5 separate regions of the Homo sapiens genome follow, and all the other regions are linked to region 4. The links are contacts of gene promoters, found by promoter capture Hi-C in blood cells and fetal thymus (Javierre and others, 2016). All regions are on one chromosome and are shown on one strand. The core of a region is centred on a gene start or on the middle of the fragment in contact, and the rest is flanking DNA. Distances in the headings are between cores, read along the strand shown. Region 1 overlaps CHN2 (chimerin 2). Region 2 overlaps CHN2 (chimerin 2). Region 3 overlaps CHN2 (chimerin 2). Region 4 holds the start of CHN2 (chimerin 2). Region 5 overlaps CHN2 (chimerin 2).

Region 1 (2,700 bases), core at 188-2,687, 170 kb before region 4:
TAATAGGGATAAGGTTATTCAGAAGAAGAAATGCTGCCCTTTTCTGGGCACAGACCATGTGCCAGGCATATTATATGCATCTTCTCACTTCATCTTCCCAAAAAGCTTCCAAGGTAACTGTTATTCCCCTCACTAATAAGGTAGCGGGGTTGCCTGCCAGCTTTGAAGATGCTCAAGGTCACACAGATCAGAGGATGAAATGAAGATTCATTGCCTTGATTTCCAAAACCCAAAGGCTGTAGTTTTCAGCCTCAGCCAGTGGTTGCCTAACTAGATGGTGGAGAGGTCCCATGAGGAGCTGCTCACATTAGAAACTCCTAGGAGTTATAAAATAATACAGATTCCTAGACTCCATCTCTGGCATTGCTTACTCTCCCAGTCCGGCCAGGGGCCCCCAGATCTGTTCTTTTTAAAGCTCTTCAAGAGACTCATGCATATCCAGGAGTAGGAGCCACTGTCCTTTGCCTTGCTGAAAGAGGGATCAGACATGGGGAACACTGGAGACAAGGAAGCAAGAGAGAACAGTGTTTTACTGGTACACAGATGAGGTTGTGAAAGTGTGAGTTAAGATAACACTGGTGCAAATGCAAATGAGAAGGTGAGTTGATGGCCTCAGAGATTCAAAAGAGAATCAACAAGACTGGTTTACAAAGAGACCCTGAGCGGCTGAGAGATTGAGATGCTACTATACAAATAAAGGATGCAGGTGATGGAACATTTCTGGACAGTTCCTCTCCTATGTCAACAGGCTAAATCCCATAGCTGCATTCTCTAGGAACCCTCTGAGCTTTAGCAAAGAAAAATTTGGTAATTCACCAATCTCACAACCAACAAAGAACAATCCCCAGCCAGGGGCGACTTGGAGGAGGGAAGGGGAAGGCAAACCCCAGAAGCGAGGAACTGCCACCTCTCTCTCCTGGCCCCTCGGCAGTAGACATCATTATTTGATGACTTATTTCTCAATGAGCAGGTCTCAGAATCTGCAAAACCCTGTTCTATGCTGTTCCAAACAACAGAAGTTGGCAAGTAGGCACAGAAGCCTATTTGCCATCTGGGTTACCTGGCTGGCTATAAAGATAATGAGATGACAATCAATTACCACGGCAACCATATAAAAATAAGGCCCAATCTCCTCTCTTAGCTTCAAATGAGAGCCTGCCCATCATTTTCAAGGTTAGCTATAGCATCCATGAAAAAAATCTCTGAGGCAGAGTTGAATATAACAGAAATTTATCGCATAATCTGAAAACGTTGCTTCTTGAATTTTCCTTGTTCAACAAACACATTTCACAAGTCACATGCAATAATGTATGTCAATTCTTGGGTGGTCTGTGAGCTGAGAGGTGACGTGATGGAATTACTTCTGCAGCAATGTCCCAAATATGTGCCAGGAATTCCCAGCCCCGGGCCCTCTGCCGCACACCAGAGAATTCTTAGCACCAGAGTAAGCTGTTTGGCAGGGGTGGCAGCCACTGGGGAACACGGAGGTGGAGCTCCCTAACTCCCCAAGAAACCCAAAGCAGATTAAGAAATTGTGAGCTCACTGACAGACTGTTTTACTTTTTCTTCAGTAAGAAAACTTGACTCACTCTGGGAACAGAATCAGACGGCTAATGGGTGAAAGCCCACAGCCTGGGTGGCCTTGAAGCCCAGGCCAGCCCCATCAGCTCCTAAGAGATCCTGCAGGGATGGCTTCTAACAGTCTACTTCTTTCTAAGGAGGGTATATGGACCCAGGAGCTGAACCCAGGCACTTGGCCATGACGCTGAGCCAGTATGACCCTGCTCACTGCTCATGTCTTCCCGATTTTCATGGGAAAACCTTATAAGCAGGGAATTGTAGGTGCTTTAGGTGTCTTCCTTGGCTCAACCCCACCCTCCACCCTGCCATGGGAAGGCCTTGCCTTCCTAACAGAATGTCAATTTTTTTTGTTTTTTTGAGACGGGGTTTTGCACTTGTTGCCCAGGCTGCAGTGCAATGGCATGATCTCGGCTAACCACAACCTCTGCCTCCTGGCTTCAAGGATTCTCCTGCCTCAGCCTCCCGAGAAGCTGGGATTACAGGCATGCACCACCATGCCTGGCTAATTTTGTATTTTCAGTAGAGATGGGGTTTCTCCATATTGGTCAGGCTGGTCTCGAACTCCCAACCGCAGGTGATCTGCCTGCCTCGGCCTCCCAAAGTGCTGGGATTACAGGCGTGAGCCACTGCACCCGGCCAGAATGTCGAGTCTTAATGGGGATTTAATTATCTTGTCTAATGGCACTGTGAAAAACCTCTAGGAGGAGATGACAGTTGCCCACACACTGAGGGGTTTCAGGCGTAAGTATGTATAAGAGAAACCTGTGGGGTTTGATACATTGCAGATCCCCCCACTTTTCTGATCCAGAGATCTGGGGTAAGGCTGAGGAATAATTATCATAAATATCCTCCCCAAGGGATTCTGATGCAGGGATTCTGCAGATCAGGGTTTTGAGGCTCTAAACTTCAAATCTGTAAAACAGGCACAAGCTATGCCTGAGTGACCTGCTGCCCAGGGGAGCCTCCAGGGAGAGCTGTCAGCCACTGCATCTGCTGCCTAATTGGCACTTGGCCTCTTAAGAAAGAAAATCTTTCAGAGCATAACCATGGTGATTGGCTTTTGAACTTGCCTGCTCGAGGCATAAAGTTCATACAGTTCTGGCTTAAAGTTTAGAATGT
Region 2 (2,700 bases), core at 163-2,662, 130 kb before region 4:
GGGGACTTCAGCAAAGCATTTTAGACACAGAGACAGGTAGCTCAATAACTTGATGATTGACAATTATAGAGTTACAAAGGGCATGCATTAGTTGATAGGAAAGTATTTCTTGTTCTTATCCCAGGGAATATTTAATCAAAAGCAGGGAGCATTCTTATCAAAACTATCCATGTACAGTGGATCAAATTAAACTTCCCTATATTTACAAGAAATAAACCCTTTACTCTTTCTAGAATAAATGCCCAGAAGCTTGGATTACCACCTGCAGGGGGTGGTTAATATATTAGACAGCAAAATGTGGATTTAAAAAGACCTGAATAGCTTGGCACCAAATTCAATAAAATTTTCAGTTGAGAGATAGATGTAACTTTCTGTCAAAAATTAAAAAAAAAAAAAAAGTCACAGCTGATGTTAGAAGACACGATCTAGCAGGGGTACATATGGTACAGATGCAGAGATTGTCAACAGTGTCACTCTAACAGTAATGAAATGGCTTTGCAAAAATTCTATCAGTGAGAAAAATTGTAACAGCTGAACTAACCCAACCCCTATCTTGCCTTTCCCTAAATTATTCCTGGGCTTTTGGGCCAAGCGGACTTTGAGAGACATTTAGGCTATGGTTTAAATGATAAAAGGTCTCCCTCAAAATTCAATCACTTTTATAAAGCTAATGGGAGGCCATCAGGCTGTGTGGAGAAGAGATGCATGCGTGCTGCTAAGGTGCAGGTGTAAACGATTATCAGCCATGATTCCAGAAGTTGTAAGATACGCAACTTCAACTACTCCTGCAAATAGCATCACTATTGTAGAACCTAAGATGGGCCTTTTGAGATATCTTTTCAAGTGTTTTGAATGTCTTGACACTTACGGCTCCAATGGACCCACCAACCCCACTCCTGTGCCCGCCCCCCACCTCCCAAAAGTGATTCAACCCACAGGAGGACAGCTTCAACCCCCTATAACTTTTTTTTTCTTTTTTTTGGTTTTGTTTTGTTTTTTTGAGACGGGGTCTCGCTCTGTCGCCCAGGCTGGAGTGCAGTGGCACAATCTCTGCTCACTGCAAGCTCCGCCTCCCGGGTTCACGCCATTCTCCTGCCTCAGCCTCCCCAGTAGCTGGGACCACAGGTGCCTGCCACCACGCCCGGCTATTTTTTCTGTATCTGTATTTTTAGTAGAAACGGGGTTTCACCATGTTAGCCAGGATGGTCTTGATCTCCTGACCTCGTGATCCGCCCGCCTCGGCCTCCCAAAGTGCTGGAATTACAGGTGTGAGCCACCGCGCCCAGCCTCAACCCCCTATAATTTAATCTCTGCCCCAACCAATCAGCAGCAAGCCCAGCCACCCCACCCTTCCCCCTAAACTGCCTTTGAAAAACCCCTAACTCAGGAAGTTTGATGAGATGATTTAAGTATGAACTCCATCTCCCACGTGGCGAGGCGGCCTCATGTCTATTAAGCACTTTATTTACTACAATGCTGTGGTCTTTCTTTATGTAGCAGGCAGGAAGAATCCCTCAGGCTGTTCCAGTAAAGTATGACAAAGCTACCAAAAACTCTGTAATCTTAGGCTGTGGTAGCAGAATAATGAGGGGGCCATCTGCTTTGGTCAGACTACCTGGAGTGTAGTTCTGGGATTGGAATACGTCTGGAGGAGAGGATTCAAAACCTCATCATGTAAGACACAACTGAAGAAAGTTGAGTGAGCAATGTCTCTGAGTGAGCAGGGTATCCATCTTCAAACATCTGAAAGGTCAGATGTTGATGTGCTCTGCGAAGTCCAAGGCTGCAGAGAAAGAGAACCAGTGCCAATACAAGCAAGCACTTTCTTTTTTTGTTGGGGGGGAACGGGGGGGACGGATTCTCACTCTCTGGCCAGGCTGGAGTGCAGTGGCACGATCTTGGCTCAACTGCGACCTCTGCCTCCCAGTTTCAAGCATTTCTCCTGCCTCAGCCTCCCAAGTAGCTGAGACTACAGGTGCATGCCATCACACCCAGCTAATTTTTGTATTTTTAGTAGAGATGGAGTTTCAACATGTTGGCCAGGATGGTCTCGATCTCTTGACCTCGTGATCCTTGGCCTCCCGAAGTGCTGGGATTATAGGCATGAGCCACCGCACCCAGCCACAAGGAAGCACACTAGTGGTCTCCAAAAGTTGCTTCAGGAGGTAGGTCGTTCCCCATTACAAGAAGCTGTTAGGCATGGCTACACAGTGCTTCCCAAATCGAGGCATGTCTATCCTCTAACTCTAGGCCGTCCCTGACTAGGAATAGTGTTGACCTGACTATATTTGCAGTAAATAATTCCTTTGTGGAGTAAAGACCTAGGACTTCATATGACCAGCTGAAAGAGCTACTTCTATGAGCCACAGAACCGTATTGAAATCCTAATAAAGTCAGTGTAATGATATGTTGACATTATAGAGAGCTTTCATCTATGGAGCTCAGGGCATTTTCACACCAATTATTGCTTTTTATCTTCACAATACTCCTACTAGGTGAGGAGGAGGAGGAGTAGGAAGAGGAGGAGGAGAAAGAGAAGTTTTATTTTGCCCATTTTGTAGCTGGAGAAGCTTGGGGAGATTTGGCAAAGGCTGTTCCATCATCACAGGGGTGTGGGGTTTAGAATTTGTAACCTGGTTCTTTACCAATCTCTATTGTCATGGGTTAAAGCCACATCCCACCTTTCTGCAGGACACTGCC
Region 3 (2,700 bases), core at 68-2,567, 190 kb before region 4:
AAACTGCCTAGGTTTGAGGCCAGATCTGTGGGAATTTAAGCAAGTTACCTATTTCTATACTCCTCAGTTTTCTTATCTTTAAAATGAGAATGATAATAAAAGTACCTGTCTCATGGGGTTGTTGTAAGAGTAAATGAATAAATATGTGTAATATGCTTGCAACAGTGCCTGGCGCAGACAGCCAGTCAGTTGCTATGAGCTATCACCGGGATCCTGAGAAGGTCTCCTCTGTATAGAAGGAAGGGTTAGGCCCATCCCTTGCTGTGTTCTTAGAGCTCCTTTTACATGTCTCCATTAGAAAACTTATCTCACCATATTTTAAATATTTATTTGCCATTTTTTTCCTAACTGTTCTGTGGAGCAGCAATTTTGTCTTCATCATTCACCTATTTCCAGGATTTCTGCCAATATCTGTCACAGAGTAAATGCAGCTACCCCTTGTTATCTGAGTCTCACCCATTCCTAAAAAATGTATAGCGCAGCAAAGCTTCAAACAGCAAGAGTCTATATTCCATTACTTTACACAGAAAACAAAATTCATTTTTAGAGAATGCAAAAATATCCATTTTCCAAATATTACTAAAATGCTCCTAAATAATTACCTGACAATCTAATAGCAATCTTTTCACAATATAAAACACTTAAAAAACAATTACCTAATTGTTTAACACTTAATGCAGTAATGAGTAGGTATATTTGTGTGCAGTCTACAGCTGAATAAATAGGAATTTCATTAGCCTTCTACACTGAGCATGTATTATAATAAAAATAAATAATGCAGTGATATTACCAAAGATTCGAAAGTTACTATCTAATTGGACCTGAGTTGGTAGTGCTCCTAGGGTCCTGGCCTAAACAAATACTGAAGGGCTAAACCCTCAGGGAAAAGGTAGGGAAATTACAGATATAATGTGCTATATGTTTAAACAGGATCAGGAGAACACAGATATGAGAGAAGCCCACCCTTTGTCTTTCAGCACCCTGCTACTCAGAGTGTGATCACGGGGCCAGCAGTATTGGCATCATCTTGGAATTTGCTAGAAATGTGGGATCTGCAATTCTAAGGGGATTCATAGATACATTAAAGTTTGAGAAGCTGCCACACATGAGAGAACGTGTCATAGCTGGTTTCTAATTGGGAATGGCTTTTAGCAAGTCCCAATAGCAAATATTCAAATAGTGAGTATTCGGAAAACAAGAGTGCCTGTCCTCATTGCATGTTTGCAGAATGAGACACAGAATATGCATGTGGACCCTTGCTCATCAATCCAGTTACTGTGGGACTCTGAGTAGATTATTACACTCCTTTGCATCTCATTTTTCTCAATTTTCAGTAAAACTGGGGTTATAAAAATGAGCTATTTTAATAAGGCTGTTTCACAGATTAGATGAGATACCCACATGTGAGACTTGGACCATCGTGGCAATAGGTTCTCATTTATTGAGTGGCTACTCTGTGCCAGGCAGAGTCCTGAGGGTTTCTCTCCTTTTGTCTCATTTAAGTCTCTAAACAATGCTCCAAGGTAAGTGAGTGCTGTTATTTTAAAGAGAACCACTAAATAGCATGAGGTCACAGAGCTAGTTAAGTGGCTGAGCCTAGATGGGGACCACCCCTAAGTACTGTGCTTCACTCCTTCTCCAGTAGATACTAATCAGCGCTAATGCCTTTGTTGGCTCTCAAAATTTACAGTTTGACTAAATACATTAGATTATCTGAATGGTCTTCAGTTTTCTTTGCTAGGACTCGAGACCTTAAAATCTCTCTTGAATGAACTGAATTCCATCAATGAATTGGCAAATGTGAACTTCGGAAAAATTTGCCTAGGATGGAGTGACATTTGGGGTCTCTCAAATATTTCCCTGTGATTTGGATTCACGTGTATTCCCAAACTACCTGGTTTATTTCCCAATGTATTTTTCAATTTTAAGGAAGACTTCTCAGTATTTTGCCAAGCTCCAAAGAACAGTAGGGTGACAGCTGCACAGTGAGAGACAGAAAGCATAATCCTTAAATGAGTTTGCTTTATAGTCAGATTATCATTGCCTAGATAAACACAAGTTCCTTTATGTTCAACACAAAGACATTTACAGAATATTGTGAGTCCTCTGTAAACAAGGTTTCCAATTATTGAAAGAACAAAGCTTTTGTAATCCCTCCGCAGCTGGTATATGTTAAGTTTTTACTTAATAGAAATAATTTAAAAACCCGACTTAGCAGCCTCCTACACAGGGCAGCTAGATTGCCGGATTTTCTGAGAGATGGATCAAGTAGGGGAGAAAAGGCTTTTGATGGGGGGATTTGTGCTGGTGATACTGGGGCAATTTCATCCACAAAAAATAAATACAGATAATTCCTTTTTAATTAGAAATCAAAGATTCCCCCACTGAAAAGGAGAGAAAGAAAATGCAAGTACTGAAATTTACACTCTTGTAGTCAAAGTGCAGAGCATAGAATGAAAATTGAGCAGACTCTAAAATCTCCCATTTCTTTCCATTTAGAATCTAAGGCCTAATTTTTTCCTCATGGCATTTCTTTAACACTTCTGGAAATCGAATAGGGCACTGATGAGGTGAATTCCTTCCTGTATTGATTAGAATGTACTATAAATGTCCACTGGTCAGTCTTTCTGTAATAAATCTCCTTAAAAGGTGACCAATTGCTTTGCTAAGTTCTGTACATACACACAAGTTGGATACTTT
Region 4 (2,700 bases), core at 87-2,586:
TTTCTTCCTTTGAGTTTAATTCGCGAATAATAATAAAAACAGCCCAATGGGACTTAATACAATATTAATATATTGAAGCACTTCCATTAGGACTTCATGACCTTCTTGACCCTTAAATACTGTATACTACCCTAAATGTCTTATCAGCTATCCCTTTGGGTTTGTCATTAAAGTTTTCAATGACCAGAGAGGTACAGGAATTCTACCTAATGCATCATTCTGATTAGAAACCTGTCATACTCAGAAACCAGTGGGTCTGCCTCTATTGATTCCTACTCCTTCAGATTCATTAGCAATTTTTTTCTCTTCAATTAGACCCGATGATCAACCATAGAAAAGCTGAAAGAAGCCTTCCCTTTGCTCAACCATTCTTAAAAGGAAAAAAAATGCATGCCTTGCTAGTGAAATTACAGCCACTATTATCAGAAAATCTCTAAGGAGTCTCTCTCTCTCTCTCTCTCACACACACACACACACACACTCTCTCTCTCTCTCTCTCTCTCTCTCTCTCTCTCGTAAATGTGCCAAGAGTCAGAGGATGGGCTCGACCTCTCTTCCCCTAACCCACTTCAATCAGGATCAGAAAGATACATCCCTTCATTGCTGCTGTCTAAAACCCATGCCCAAGCGAGTGTCTCCATAGAGCTAATTTCTGAAACAAACAAAGAAAATCAAGTCTGCGAGGAGCGAGGGTTTGCTCCCCTCTGCTCCGGATTTGGGTGTCCAGGGTAGCGGGCGCGGCACGGCAAACAGGTCGGGGCGCTCTGCTTCACCCCAACCTTCTCCGCCCCGCCAGCCCCCGCTCCAGCTGCGCCAGAAAGTGCGAGCCTGCCCGCTCCTTTCGCTTTTCGCTCGCTGCACTCCAAGCCCCGGAACACCCGCGTCCGCACACTAAGGGCACCACCGCTCTCCCACCTCTGCGCTGTCAGATGTCAGGCGCGGAGGTGCTCTGGGCACCGAGGTGCTGGCGAACCAAACAAGTATCACCCCGGACGCCTGCCCCCATTCCGAGAGAGCGGGCGGGATGGCCACAGGTAGGCTCTGTCCATCCCAGGCTGCGGGGCGAGGGCAGTGGGGCGAGACCCGGCGCGGCAGCAGCGCCCGACGGGCTGAAACTCACCGGAGGACACCGACGAGCCGGACAGGCTGGAGTTGCTGGACGCTGCCATCTCCGCGCGCCCCTCGCGTCGCTGCTCGCTCAGCCCCGGTGCGGACGCCGCCGCCGCTGCCCTCGCCCGGCCGCTCGCAGCCTCCGCGGCCCCCAGCCCATGGCAAAGTCCTGGGGACGCGCAGAAAGCACCAGCCTCCGGACTCTGCCTGCACTTCCTGCTCCACCAGATGACGCGCTGCCGCCGCCGCTATTTATTTGTGGTTTCCGTCCCGCTCCGCGCCTTTGCACGCTTTTCTATGGGTGTCAGGGGGTAGGTGGGAGCAGAGGGAGGCCGAGGGGCAGCCGGGACGGGCGGATCTCGGCTCCCGCCGAGCCCCTCTGCCGTCCACGCTCCCCTGTGCGCGGCTGGGACCAGGGCGTCCTGGCAGCTCCGAGCCGCCCCGCCAGCTCCCGCACCCTCTCCTGGGCTCCCGCCTCTCCCGCCGCACTTCGAGTAGACCGGGCAGAGGCGGCGGGAGACGGACAGACAGAGCGACCTCCCCCTTCTCCCTCCGCCCCAACTCCGCTCGCGCACACACAAAGGAAGAAGAGGAGACGCGGTCGCTCGGGGGGTGGTTCGGCTGCTGCGGGCTTGACAGCTCCCGCCACTGGGGCTGGAGGGGGAGGCTGCGGACTGCTGGACAGGGGGAGGCGGGACGGGGGACCGGGTCCCCGGGGTGCTGGGGAGGCCGGGGCCGGGCGCGGGGCGAGCGCGGCTGCTGCGCGCAGCGCTGCTCCTAGGATTTGAAGGGGATGGGGAGGGAGGGTGTGGGGGAAGGTGGTGGGGCTCACCGCGCCCCGCCGGGCTCTCGAGCAGCGAGACAGTGGGGGTGGGGGATCCAGAGGGCGAAGGCGGGATCACTAGGGCCACGGTGCTAGGCAGAAGGGAACCTGGGATGACAGAGCCACTATGGAGCGCTCCTTCCACTCCTCTCCAAATTGTCCTTTGTTGCTCTGGAGCTGACGGTCCCTGCCCTGCAAGAAGGTGCGTTTCCTAAAACACCCGGGAAGCCAACCCAGCTACACTTAAGTAACCCAGCCACGGACAGTGCCCGACGCGTCCGTGGGCCTCTGAGGTTGGCCTTCAAAGAAATAGAGCCGTCCAAACGTGTCATCAGGCCCACACAAAGCTGGTGTCAAAGAGAAAGAGGTTCTCCGTGCCTTGCAAAAAAAGATTCTCACAAAAGACTTAAGACTTGGCAGCAGGTCCGACTGTGCCCTTTCAGGATAGGAACTGCTCAGGTGTGTGAGAGAAAGAGACTCGAGCACAAGGTGTGTCCCTTCCCCCTGTATTTAAACCTAAATTAATTTCACTGGGAGGAAATACCATGCAGATTTTTTTTAAGTCTGTTTCACGCTCCCAGCGGGCTAATCGGTTCTTTCAATCCTAAAGCAACAGAAAACTGTGAAATTTGAAGAGAAATTGTTAGATCAAAGGAAAAAGCAAACATTAAAGGAATGAAAGTACTCTCATTATATAGCAAAAATGGAAAGTGTTCACATTGGGGTAGTTCAACTTTTTAAAACATGGTTAAAAGAACATAGTCAAT
Region 5 (2,700 bases), core at 155-2,654, 230 kb before region 4:
AGACGTTTATGAGCCCTTCTCTCACTTTCTCCTCAAACAGCTATTCTTAATTTTCAGCTCACCTTCTCTGAGCTAGAATGTTCCTGCCAAAAGAAGTCATTGGATGAATCCCTTTGGAGATGAAGAAATAAAGCAGGAGGAAGTGCAGGCATCAAGGAGCTTTGGTTGTCCCAATAGTCACTTCTCTTATGTGTGGTTAGGGCGGCAGGTGCAAGACTACTTGAAACCCAGTCGTTTTTAGCCAGTAGCCTCACATTCCTCTGTGCACAGAACTTTTTACCAGCTCTGCCTTCAGTTTTACTTCCTTCCAGAGCCGTTTCCCTGAGGACACTTCTGAGAGGCACTAAAGTAGCCCAAAGGCAGGAAATGGGGGGTAATTTTTAATTTGGGGAGTCTGCCCTTGGGTAGGCTGAAGATCTGAACAGTCCCAGTGCGGCTGACTCTGTTGCTGACTCTCAGACAGGCTGGCTTCAGATCAACCTCTGGTGCTGGGCAAGAGAAATGAACTTGAGTTGACCTTCATTGAAAGTACAAGAAAGGTGTTGGTACTATCTGCTTCTCTAGATTGAGTTTTTCTTTCTAAATTTAGTTGTGGTTTAAAAACCCATATAGCCGGACATGGTGGCTCACGCCTGTAATCCTAGCACTTTGGAAGGCTGAGCCGGGTGGATCACCTGAGCTCAAGATCAGCCTGGCCAACATGGCGAAACCCCGTCTCTACCAAAAATACCAAAATTAGGTGGTGGGTGCCTATAATCCTAACTACTCAGGAGGCTGAGGCAGAAGAATCGCTTGAACCTGGGGGGCAGGGGTTGCAGTGAGCCAAGATGGCACCACTGTACCCCAGCCTGGGCAAAAGAGCAAAACTCCATCTCAAAAAAAAAAAGAAAGAAAAGAAGAAAAAACAACCCATATAATCTAAAATTTATCATCTTAACTGTTTCAAGTGTACAGTTCAGTAATGTTAAGCATACTCACATTGTTGTACAATTGATTTCCAGAACTTTTTCATCTTGCAAAACTAAAACTTGTTGAACAATTCCCCATTTCCTTCTCCCCTCAGCCCTTGACAACCATTCTGCATTTCACATTCTGTTGCTGTGAATATGACTGCTTTAGATACCTCATATTAAGACAGTATTTGTCTTAGTATAAACAAAGATTCTTAGACAGAATATGTCTGACATATTTCACTTAGCATAATGTCCTCAAAGTTCATCCATGTTACAGCACAGGACAGGGTTTCCTTCCTTTTGAAGCTAAAGCTAAAGTATGTTCCACTGCATGTCTATACTACATTTTCTTTATTCATTCATCCATCCATAGACACTTGAGTTGCTTCTACCTCTTGGCTATTGAGAATAATACTGTTATGAACATGGGTATACAAATTTCTCTTTGAGATCCTGCTTTCAATTCTTTTGGCTATATACCCAGAAGTGGAATTGTTAGATCATATGGTGATTCTATTTTTGTTTCTTTGAAGAACTGCCATATTGTTTTCCATAGCAGCTGCACCATTCTACATTCTCAGCAGCAATGCACAAGGCTTCCAATTTCTCCACATCCATACCAACACTTGTTACTTTTTTTTTTAATTGTAGCTATCCTAATAGGTGTGAGATAATTTTTTTTTTTTTTTTGAGATGGAGTCTCACTCTGTCACCTGGGCTGGAGTGCAGTGGCATGATCTTGGCTCACTGCAACCTCTGCCTCCTGGGTTTGAGCAATTCTTCTGCCTCGGCCTCCCGAGTAGCTGGGATTACAGGTGCGTGCCACCATGCCTGGCTAATTTTTGTATTTTTAGTAGAGACGGGGTTTCACCATGTTGGCCAGGCTGGTCTGGAACTCCTGGCCTCCCAAAGTGCTGGAATTACAGGCATGAGCCACTGCACCCGGCCGGTGTGAGATAATATTTCCTTGTGGTTTTCATTTGCATTTCCTTAATGATTAATGATGTAGAGCATCTTTTCATATGCTTGTTGGCCATCTGAGTATCATCTTTGGACAAATGTCAAGTCCTTTGCCCATTTTTAAATTGGGTTATTTACTTTTGTTGTTGTTGTTGTTGAGTTGTAGGAGTTTTTAAAAATACATTATGGATATTAAACCCTTATTAGATATATGATTTGCAATATTTTGTCCCATTCCATAAGTTGCCTTTTCACTTTGTTGATTGCATCCTTTGACACATAGAAAATTTTAAGTTTGATATTATCCTTTTTGTCTATATGTGCTTTTGTTGCCTGTGCTCTTGGTGTCACATCCAAGAAATCACTGCCAGCCCCAATATCATGGAGCTTTCCCCTATATTTTCTTCTAGGAGTTCTATAATTTTAGGTCTTATGTGTAGGTAGTTAATAAATTTAATGTTAGTGTATTTGGTGAAAAGTAAGAGTCCAAATTCATTCTTCTGCATGTGAATATCCAGTATTCCCAATACCTCTAGACTGAGTTTTAATCTGGTAGTAGATTCAGAACACTGTGCTAGGTGTAAATTGGTGGTGATTATTTCTAACTATCTAACTAACAATTAAACAAAGCCTTGAGGTGTCTACCCCAGAAAGTTGACTCTAAGTTTGCTAGAAACTTTATACACAGGCACACCCAAGACTGGCCTAACAGTTGTCAGTTCTTGGAAAATTTAAAAAAAGAACTGCCACCATGTGCCCACTGCATACTGGTACGCTGAGAAGTCAT

The links. Contacts are between HindIII fragments. The CHiCAGO score rates a contact against its expected background, and 5 or more counts as called.
Region 1: a contact is called between a fragment that was not itself captured here and the fragment with the promoter of CHN2 in region 4, in 2 of 17 cell types (endothelial precursors and megakaryocytes). The highest score is 5.6, in endothelial precursors.
Region 2: a contact is called between a fragment that was not itself captured here and the fragment with the promoter of CHN2 in region 4, in 1 of 17 cell types (megakaryocytes). The highest score is 5.2, in megakaryocytes.
Region 3: a fragment that was not itself captured here is called in contact with the fragment with the promoter of CHN2 in region 4 in 6 of 17 cell types (total CD8 T cells, fetal thymus, naive CD8 T cells and 3 more); the score reaches 8.1 in total CD8 T cells.
Region 5: a contact is called between a fragment that was not itself captured here and the fragment with the promoter of CHN2 in region 4, in 1 of 17 cell types (total CD8 T cells). The highest score is 8.6, in total CD8 T cells.

Annotation. Positions count from the first base shown.
Region 1 is chr7:29,359,759-29,362,458 of GRCh38, reverse strand. All of the region lies in intron 2 of CHN2 (chimerin 2), which reads right to left. Among named protein-coding and RNA genes, the nearest start is that of CHN2-AS1, 150 kb to the right of the region's middle. The HindIII fragment of the contact is 2,659 bases long and covers 108-2,700 here.
Region 2 is chr7:29,322,304-29,325,003 of GRCh38, reverse strand. The region is part of intron 1 of CHN2 (chimerin 2); the gene reads right to left. Among named protein-coding and RNA genes, the nearest start is that of CHN2-AS1, 110 kb to the right of the region's middle. The HindIII fragment of the contact is 2,321 bases long and covers 252-2,572 here.
Region 3 is chr7:29,385,927-29,388,626 of GRCh38, reverse strand. The region is part of intron 3 of CHN2 (chimerin 2); the gene reads right to left. Among named protein-coding and RNA genes, the nearest start is that of PRR15-DT, 180 kb to the left of the region's middle. The HindIII fragment of the contact is 1,655 bases long and covers 490-2,144 here.
Region 4 is chr7:29,193,411-29,196,110 of GRCh38, reverse strand. CHN2 (chimerin 2) reads right to left here and starts at 1,336. Exons shown (of 13, transcript NM_004067.4): 1 at 1,121-1,336. The coding sequence starts at 1,169. It also overlaps a transcript of CPVL not described here. RefSeq lists an enhancer at 48-683. The HindIII fragment of the contact is 12,795 bases long and covers 1-2,700 here.
Region 5 is chr7:29,419,003-29,421,702 of GRCh38, reverse strand. All of the region lies in intron 6 of CHN2 (chimerin 2), which reads right to left. Among named protein-coding and RNA genes, the nearest start is that of PRR15-DT, 140 kb to the left of the region's middle. The HindIII fragment of the contact is 5,077 bases long and covers 1-2,700 here.